Regions from separate parts of the Homo sapiens genome. Here regions 1 and 2 are each linked to region 3. Evidence: promoter capture Hi-C in 16 types of primary human blood cells and fetal thymus (Javierre and others, 2016). All regions are on one chromosome and are shown on one strand. Each heading gives the region's core, a stretch centred on a gene start or on the middle of the fragment in contact. The rest is flanking DNA. Distances are from core to core; before and after follow the strand shown.

Evidence for each region. The method cuts DNA at HindIII sites, captures the fragments that hold promoters and counts their contacts. A CHiCAGO score of 5 or more calls a contact.
Region 1: a fragment that was not itself captured here is called in contact with the fragment with the promoter of LGALS7B in region 3 in 2 of 17 cell types (erythroblasts and activated CD4 T cells); the score reaches 6.3 in erythroblasts.
Region 2: a fragment that was not itself captured here is called in contact with the fragment with the promoter of LGALS7B in region 3 in 1 of 17 cell types (non-activated CD4 T cells); the score reaches 6.1 in non-activated CD4 T cells.

What each region holds. Positions count from the first base shown.
Region 1 is chr19:38,449,435-38,452,134 of GRCh38, reverse strand. It overlaps RYR1 (ryanodine receptor 1), which reads right to left. Exons shown (of 106, transcript NM_000540.3): 12 at 250-371. Among named protein-coding and RNA genes, the nearest start is that of RYR1, 17 kb to the right of the region's middle. The HindIII fragment of the contact is 175 bases long and covers 1,262-1,436 here.
Region 2 is chr19:38,523,194-38,526,148 of GRCh38, reverse strand. RYR1 (ryanodine receptor 1) reads right to left here. Exons shown (of 106, transcript NM_000540.3): 69 at 2,840-2,932; 70 at 2,220-2,234; 71 at 647-817. Among named protein-coding and RNA genes, the nearest start is that of MAP4K1-AS1, 72 kb to the left of the region's middle. The HindIII fragment of the contact is 230 bases long and covers 1,591-1,820 here.
Region 3 is chr19:38,787,729-38,790,594 of GRCh38, reverse strand. LGALS7B (galectin 7B) reads right to left here and starts at 1,395. Exons shown (of 4, transcript NM_001042507.4): 1 at 1,363-1,395; 2 at 891-979. The coding sequence starts at 1,368. The HindIII fragment of the contact is 12,505 bases long and covers 1-2,866 here.

The sequences.
Region 1 (2,700 bases), core at 100-2,599, 340 kb after region 3:
TTTTTTTTGGTAGAGGCGGGGTCTCCCTATGCTGCCCAGGCTGGTCTCAAGCTCCTGGGCCCAAGCGATCCTCATGCCTTGCCCTCCCAAAGTCTTGGGATTACAGGTGTGAGCCACTGCGCTTGGCCCATGTATATGTTAGACAAGGGTGTGGGCAACAGAGGTAGAGATGAAAGAGGCCAAGTGTATGGATGCCCGGAGCATGGGACAGCACAGGAGTCACCCCAGCAGGGAGGGCAGGTTGCTCACTTGATGAACTGGTTGTATAGGCCATTGGTGCTGTGGATCATGCGGGCGGCCTGGGACTCCTCCTGCTGGCAGCGGGTCAGCGACAGTGCGTCGTCCATGTGGCCCTCCTGGTGCAGCATGGCCTAGGAGTGGGGAGACAGAGGTCTGGAGTGGGCCCAGCCACCCAGGGCCATGCCCCCAAGACGTCTGTCTAGACTTGAGTTCTGCACTTGCCCCCTCCTCCCTGCTCTGCAGAATCTCACTGCAAATTCCTCCTCATTTTTCTGTCCCCCGTCATCTGTCTCCTCTGTGTCTTTGATTCTCTCTCTCCTCTCTGTCTCTCTCTGTCCCTGTTTTTGGTTTTGTCTGTCTTTGTCTCTCTATCTCTCTCACCTCTGTCCCTGCCTCTCCCTCTCTATCTCTCTATCCCTATCTCCTTCCTGTCTCTGTCTCCAGGCCAGACCCTTTCCACCTGTACCTACTGCTGACTTAACATTCCCCCCGACCAGAAAGCTCTAACCCCCAAATTGAACCTGTCCCAGATAGAATGCCAGACCACCTTTCCACGAGGTGAGACCATCATGGCTGCCAGCTTCACCCCAAGCCGACCTCCCCAGAACTCATCCAGTCTGCGGCTGTAAACACCATCCACCTGCTGATGATGCTCACGTGTCCCCACTTTGGACATGGCCCAGGCCCCGTCTCTACGCCCTTGGCTCATGTATTCAACTACAGGCCTGTTTTTGCAAACGAGTGCCTCCCCAAGGATTCCTACTTGTCCATTCAGCAAGGCTGTAGTAAGTGGCTCTGTTCTAGGCACTGGCAGTAAAGCCTAAGATCCCTGTCCTTCTGAGCCAACACTGACTGTCCCCTAACTTGGTTGATGGCACTGATACAAGAGGTAGAAAAAAATTATTTAGGCAGAGAGTAAGGGCAACAGAGTCCTCGGCAGAGTTTCCTTTCTAACGGAAAGCAGCCCCCAAAATAATTTCTTTTCTAACAAAGAGCAGCCTGGAAAATCGAGCTACAAGCTTGCATGGGGGAATGTGCCGATAGAAAAGGTATACCTGGGGCTACGCATGTCCAACATGGAGGCTCCATCTTCCCTTTATTTAGTTATTTATTTATTTATTGTTTCCACGTTGTACAGAAAAGGAATGGGCAACATGGCCAGCTCAGGCAGAGGACCCGCTTGTACAATAAAAGCTTAGGGTGGAGGCAGCCAGAAATTTGTGCCCTATGCAAATGGCACAACTGGTCCAACCAGTCTTTTGCACCCTAGGTAAATCAGATACCACCTCCCCACCAGCTCATCTGTAAAGCCCCCTGCATTTCACCATGGAACCCCCTGCATTTCAACCCATTTTTCTGGGACCCTTCTCTGCAGTAGAGAGCTCCTTCTTTCGCCTATTAAATGTCCCCTCTTAACCTCACTCTTTGTGTGTCTGCGTCCTTGTTCTCTGTGGCTGTGAGACCACAAACCTTGGGTGATACTCCAGACAATGAGGCTGTTTCAGCACTTCCATCCTTCCAGTTGCTTGGGGCAAAAAATCATGGCATCATCCTCAACCCCTCCCCTTCTCTCACCCCACAGCCAATCTGTCAGCAAATCCTGTTGGCTCTACCCTCAGGACCCCACCAGAATCTACTACTCTTCCCAACTCCACAGTCCCCTCCTGGTCCTGTCCACTGTCATCTCCCATTTGTAACATCATGGCAGTCTCTTCTCTGGTCTCCCTGCTCTGGCTCTGTCCCCTGACCGTAGTCTGTTCCCAGAGACAGCCTAAGAATTCTGTGATCCTGCGTCAGGTCACTTCCCTGCCCTGCTCAAAATCTCCTGTGAGCCCATCTCACTCAGGATAAAAACTAGAACCTGGCCAGGAGCAGTGGCTCACACTTCACTTTAATCTCAGCACTTTGGGAGGCTGAGGCAGGAGGATCACTTGAGCCCCAGGAGTTTGAGACCAGCCTGTGTAATATAATGAGACCTCGTCTCTACAAAAAACAAACAAACAAACAAAACTAGACCTCTCCCATGGCCCACAAGGCCTCACACGAGCTGTTCCCATCCCCTCTCTTTCCTCACCAACCACTACTCCAGCCTGCTCACCCTGTTCCACACTGTGGCTTCTTTCTGCTACTGCAACAAGCCAAGCTCATGTTAACCTCAGGACCTTTGCACATGCTGTTCCTGCTGCCAAAAATAGTTTTCCCACTCCTTAATTGTAAAACTATGTACTTCACTAAAGGCAGTTTGTTCACAATTTCTGAGCACTGGGAGGGCAGGGAACAGGTCGCTACAGCTCATCTATTTTCTGCACACACAACCAGAACAACGCGGGTACTCAGTAATTGTTTGTTGAAAGTTATTCTCAGTTGGTCATTATCCATCTTTTTCTCACTCTCTCTGTTTTTGTTTTTGTTTTGTTTTGTTTTTGTTTTTCTGAGACGGAGTTTCACTCTTGTCAGCCA
Region 2 (2,955 bases), core at 456-2,955, 260 kb after region 3:
GTTGAGACCTCAGAGGTTTGGGTACAGTCCCGGGCTTGGGGTTCATGGATCCTGGGGAGTTATGCAGGGTCGCAGGGCTCCCTGAGCCCCTGAGAGTCTTGGGGGCTTAGTTGGGCTTCAACAGGGCCCAGGTGTCAGCAGGGTCCTGAAGGAAAGGGATGGTGAGCCAAGGGCTCAGCAGGAACCCAGAGGTTCAGTCTTGGCAGGGAGGGAAGGAGGGGTCATGAGGGTCTCAGTAGGTCCCAAGGGGCTTGAAGGGGCCTTGGTGGAGGGTTCAGAGGATCTCAGGGGCTCATCTTGTTGGGGGGACTCTCAGGGTCTCAGCAGGTTTGGCATGGTCCGGTGGGGGGGCAGTGGGGTCCTGCAGTCCTCATGCGGGTCCCAGGGGTCCTAGAGCTTTTCTAGGTTTCAGTGAGGGCTCTTAGGTCTGTGGTGCCCTGGCAATATCTTGAACGGGGTCCTCAGGGCATCCCAGGGGCACAGTGAGTCCTCAGCATCCCGGAAAAGAACTCAGTGGGGTCTGAAGGGAAGGCTCCCAGGGACCTGGGGGGCTCAGTGGCATTGTGGTTGTTCCCTAAGGTCCCAGGGGTTCAGTGGGTGCTGGGCGGCATCCTGGAAGGTTCCGAGGACGGGGCTGGGCAGGCACCAGGGCGTAACGGGTCTTGGCCAGCGTGATGAGGTCTTGGTCGGTGGGCGCACACATATTCAGGCCGATGGGCAGCATCTTCTTCAGTGTGGCCACGATCAGTGACGTCTGCACAGAGTACCGGTCCCCCCGGCGCTTCTTCTTGGTGCGTTCCTGGTCCGAGCCACCGGACTGTGGGGACACAGGGCTCAGCACCAGCCCAAGCCCCAATCCCATGCCTCAGCCCCAACCCGCGGCCATCATCCACACCCCAGGCCCCAGTCTGGACACCAGGCACTCCCTCCCCAACTGCCGACGACACCTCAATTTCCACCCCAGACTTGCTGACTCTACACTTCAGGCCCACAGCCATGACCGGAGACCCTCCAGACCCAAGTCCACAACCCAAATTCCCAGTTTCTTGTTTTTTAAACAAATTTATTTTTAGAGATGGTGTCTTGCCATGTTGCCCAGGCTGGACTTGAACTCTTGGCTTCAAGTGATCCTCCTGCCTCAGCCTCCCAAGTAGCTGGGACTACAGGCACATACCACCATGCTTGCCTGGCTCCAATTTCTAACCCAGGCCCATCCAGATTTTCCCCCGTTCTGGGCCTGTCTCAACTTCTAGCAGTCCTCTTCCAGAATCCCCTAGGAACCCCAGTACAATACCCCCTCCACAGCATGCACAACCCCACACTTCACATCCCAAAACCAAGTTCTCAAGAATGAAACAAAGATGCAGGTCCACAAAGAGTTCAAGCGACAAGAGAAGTTGCAAGAAAAAGACACTGAGAGACTGAAAAAGACAAGGAGACAGGAAGACCAAAGATGCAAGAGACATCCAGAAAGATCTGGAAGCAGAGACACAGGGCACAGAGTCCCACAGCCGTGTTCTGGAGCCTTGGGTGCAGACCCGGGGCCAGGGCCACCCCAGTCACGCCAGCGAGAAGCCCTGATGACAAGCTTTTGGGCAGAGCCACATCCACGCCGGCTGGCAACTTTGAGCATGACCCCTGTGCCAGGCACTGCTGCAGGCCACACATGCAGCTTCTCCCTGAGTCCTCGCAGAGCCCTGGGGTGGGGGCTGCTGGCTGGATGCCCTCAGAGGCTCAAAAGGATGACCCCAACCAAGGTCACACGGCTAACTATCAAGACAGGATTCTAACCCCAGTCCATACAGTCCAGAGCCCAAGCTTTAAACCATCCACGGCGAGGGTGCTGCCCCCTCCCCAACCATGCTCCGTGTGCCTCTCCCACCCCCATTACCCTTGACCTCAGCCCACGATGCTTTGGTAAAAGCTGAGAGTTGCTCTTTTTTTCTTTTTTTTTTTTTTTTTGGGAACAAAAGTCCAGAAAAAAAAAAGGAAAGAAGAAAAAGAAAAGAAGTCAAATTGCCAAAAGCTGAGGGTTGGGATGGGAACGGATGGGGGTGGTGGGGAGGGAAGGGAAGGGAAGGAGGATGGGTGGGGGCTGGGAGGGGAGGACGGGGGTGGGGAACAGAAGCAGGGGTTTTCTCGAGGCGGGGGCGTGCAGAGGCTGGGGGAAGAGGGCATTAGCCAAGAGACATGCGGAAGGTCCCAGATGTGGGGCTGACCTGTATATCTCCCGCCTGCTTCACCGGACCGCAGACAGAGACAAGAAGGGTTACCCCAGCCCCGCAGAGAAGCCCAGGCCCAACTCCAAGTTGCCAGCACCCCACCTCCTCTGCCCCACCCGCCATGTATTCTCTAGCTGGGCATTTCCAGGCCTTGGCTCGGGGTGGGGGGTCGTTCTCTGAGACCTGAGAAGGGCAGTGCTGAGAAGGATAGGGAGGAAAGCAGGAAATGGGGTAATGGGGAGAGGAAGAAAGAAATGGAAGAGGGGGAAAATGGGGAGGAGGAGGAGGAGGGAAATGGGAGGAGAGAGAGGCTTGGAGAAGAGGAAAATGGAGAGGAGGGAAATGGGAGGAGGGAGAAGATACAGGAGGAGGAAGGAGACAGAGATGAGAGAAGAGGGAGATGGAGAGGAGGAGGGAGATGGGAGGAGGGAGAAGATACAGGAGGAGGAAGGAGCTGGGGAGGAAGGGAGAGGGAGAGGAGGTAAGAGGGGCTGCTCTGAGGACTGCAGGGATTGCGCCCAGGACGGGCTGGCTGGGTGAGGACAGGCCAGGTAGGAAGTCCTAGAGGGTGCTCCCGCCCTCTCTGCCAAGTGCTCCTCCCAGAACCAAGCCCCGACCTTAGCCATTTTGCTTTTGTTGTCAGCAGTCAGGAAGGACATGTTGTTGATCTCATTCTGGACCACAAAGTTCTGCTCCTCGCGCTTGAAGTTCTGGTGGGGGAAGCAGTGTTGCA
Region 3 (2,866 bases), core at 146-2,645:
AATGAATAAGTAAATGAAATGTTGGCTGGGTGCAGTGGCTCACCCTGTAATCCCAGCACTCTGGGAGGTGGAGAAGGGAGGATCGCTTGGGCCCGGAAGTTAAAGACCAGCCTGGGCAACATAGCGAGACCCCACCTTACAAAAAAACGAAAGAACAAACAAAACATAAACCGCCCAGACCAAAGTGAAGGTCTTATGGGCTGGCACTCCCCATTCCCAGAGTACCCCCAAATTAACAGGGACCTGAAGACAGGCACACACCGCAGAAGGAGAGGTGGGCGACTAATGACCAGGGAGCTTAGATTCCCAAGGCAGCCAAAATATCATGAGGCCCTTGGCAGAAACCTACCCAGACCAAACTCACTACGCTTAGGGCAGGGTGCCCTCATTTCCAAAGAGCCTGGGAGCTGCCCAGGAGGTCTGGGTGATAGCCAGGGTGCTCCTGATGCTCAGGGAACCCTCAGCTTCTACAGGACAAAGAATAATACCAGGAACCCCAGTATTTCCAGGGTACCTCAGAATCCAGAAGGCCCGAAGTTCCTTAGCCAGGAAGTCAAAGGATGGCTTGGCAAGGACTCCCAGGGTCCAGGGTGTCTCCAGGACTTGGAGTATTTCCAGAGTTCCCTGGGACTCAGACATGGAAGTCATAGGACTATATCTAGGAACCCTGAGATTACCCAGGGACCTCAAATGCTTAGGGAAACTTAGGGACCCCAGCCACAAAGGCACGGGGGCAAATACGAATACATCAGATTTGAGGTCAGAAATGGCCTCGGACTCCTAGCCTGGTGGATACAGGTGGCCTCGGGCCCCTACTTCTGGACTGCAAAAATTGGGAGTCAGCTGATCCTGAGACCTGTACCCTTTACCCCTAGGGCCTGGGGCCTCACCTGCTGGCATTGGGAGGAACCAAGCCGCGAATTCTCAGCACCGTGCCAGGGCGGATGCCCTCGGGCAGTGAGGACTTGTGGGGGACGTTCTGCAAGAGTGGGGTGCAGGGGCCACTGTGAGCCGGTGAGACCGAAGGAGGGAGGCAGAAGGTGGGTCACCCCTCAGAGGAGCCGACCAGGGCTGAGACTGGCAGAAATCAGTGGAAGAGGAAAGGGTGGCGGAGAGGCAGGAAAGAGACCAGAAACAGACAGGGAAACAGATGGGGAGAGCAACAAAGACAAACAGAAAGATCCTCAAAGAGGGCCCCAGAGGAAGCCACAAAGAGGTAGAGGGGACAGTCGGGATGGGGGTTACCCGGAGGCCACAGCCCAGGCCAGTCCGTGGCACACTCACTGCCCACTTGCTCCTTTGAAAGAGGAGCCCCCAGCCCCCTCCCTGCTTGGCCCCGCCCCGGGCCCCTGGAGCACTCACGGACATGGCTGGGACCGGGTTGGGCAGCCGTGGTGGTGGGGCCTGCTGGGGACCTTAAATAAAAGCAGGGCGGGGCTGGCCCTGATGACTCACCCCACCCCTTCCCACCCACCACCCACACCTGGCACGGACCCTGGCCCTGGGGCAAGCCTGGCGAAGTGGGAGTGGCGCCTCTTCTTGGGGGCCCTGATCCCCCCATCACCCAGAGCCCGGGTGCACTGCCCCTCTCCTAGGAGCTGATAATAAGAGCCACCGCCCCTCCACCCCTGTCTTCCCACTGCCTGGCACACAGGAGAGTCTCTCATGCTCATTTTATCCACAGACATGTTGGGTCCTGAGAAGCCAAGCCCAGCGGGAACTCTAGACCCTTCTCTCCAGCTGAGAACCTCCTGCCTAGACTGGAAATGTCTGCGCTGAAATCCCTGCTTCTAAGTCTCCAGTGGAACAGCAGCCACAACAACGACGATAGTGCCAGACAGGGGGACTTCACAGGGTCGGAGGGCGGCCTGGTTGGCTCAGTGCTGCACCCCTGGGTCCTGGAGTGTGCCGGGTTCATGGGAAGTCCTCAGTCAGGAGGGGTGAAAGGAGGGGATCCACTAGGACTACGCTTGTCATTTCCCAGGCCCTTGGGCTGCCCAGGATATGCAGGAAATCACTGATTGGGACCCCACCATTCCAACAGAGAGAAGCATGGGTCACCCCCATTGTACAGAGAAGGAGGCTGAGGCTGGGATGGGAAGTGATTTTCCACAAGCCGGGCAGGACCCATTGCCCCAACCTCTGCCTTTCCTCACCTCTGGGCGTGCCTCTCCTGTGGGTTCTGTCTCTGGGGCTGGCTGTCTGGCTCTGTTTGTCTCTGTCTATAACTGTCTACCGCGTATTCCTGTCCCACTTCTCTCCTTCAAGTCTCTCTTGTTCCTCCTTCCAGGACTGTTACCATCTTCCCACCAATTTTGCAGGTCAGGATGAGGTGGGTTTTAGGGTGGTGGGTGGCCTAGCATTCCATCACCACCTAGATCAAAAGCAGAGCAAGGTGGGGACCCTCCCGCCAGCCCCAATATAGCCCGCTTGGGCCCAAGACTCTAGAAGAGAATCCAGGGTTGGGGAAGTAGACTGGGGGAGGCGGGGGGGGGGGGGGGGGCGGGCAGGACTGAAATCTGTTTCTGAAAGGCAGGGATGGTGTGGGAGCTGAACAGAAACCACTCCTGGCTGGGCATGGTAGCTCACGCCTGTAATCCCAGCACTTTGGGAGGCCAAGGTAGGTGGATCACTTGAGGTCAGGAGTTCAAGACCAGCCTGGCCAACATGGTGAAACCCCTTCTCTATAGAAAATACAAAAAATTGGCCAGGTGTGGTGGTGGACACCTGTAATCCCAGCTACCTGGGAGGCTGAGGCAGGAGAATTGCTTGAGCTGGGGAGGCGGACGTTGTAGTGAGCCGAGATCACACCACTGCACTGCAGCCTGGGCGACAGAGCTAGACTCTGTCTCAAAAAATAAAAATA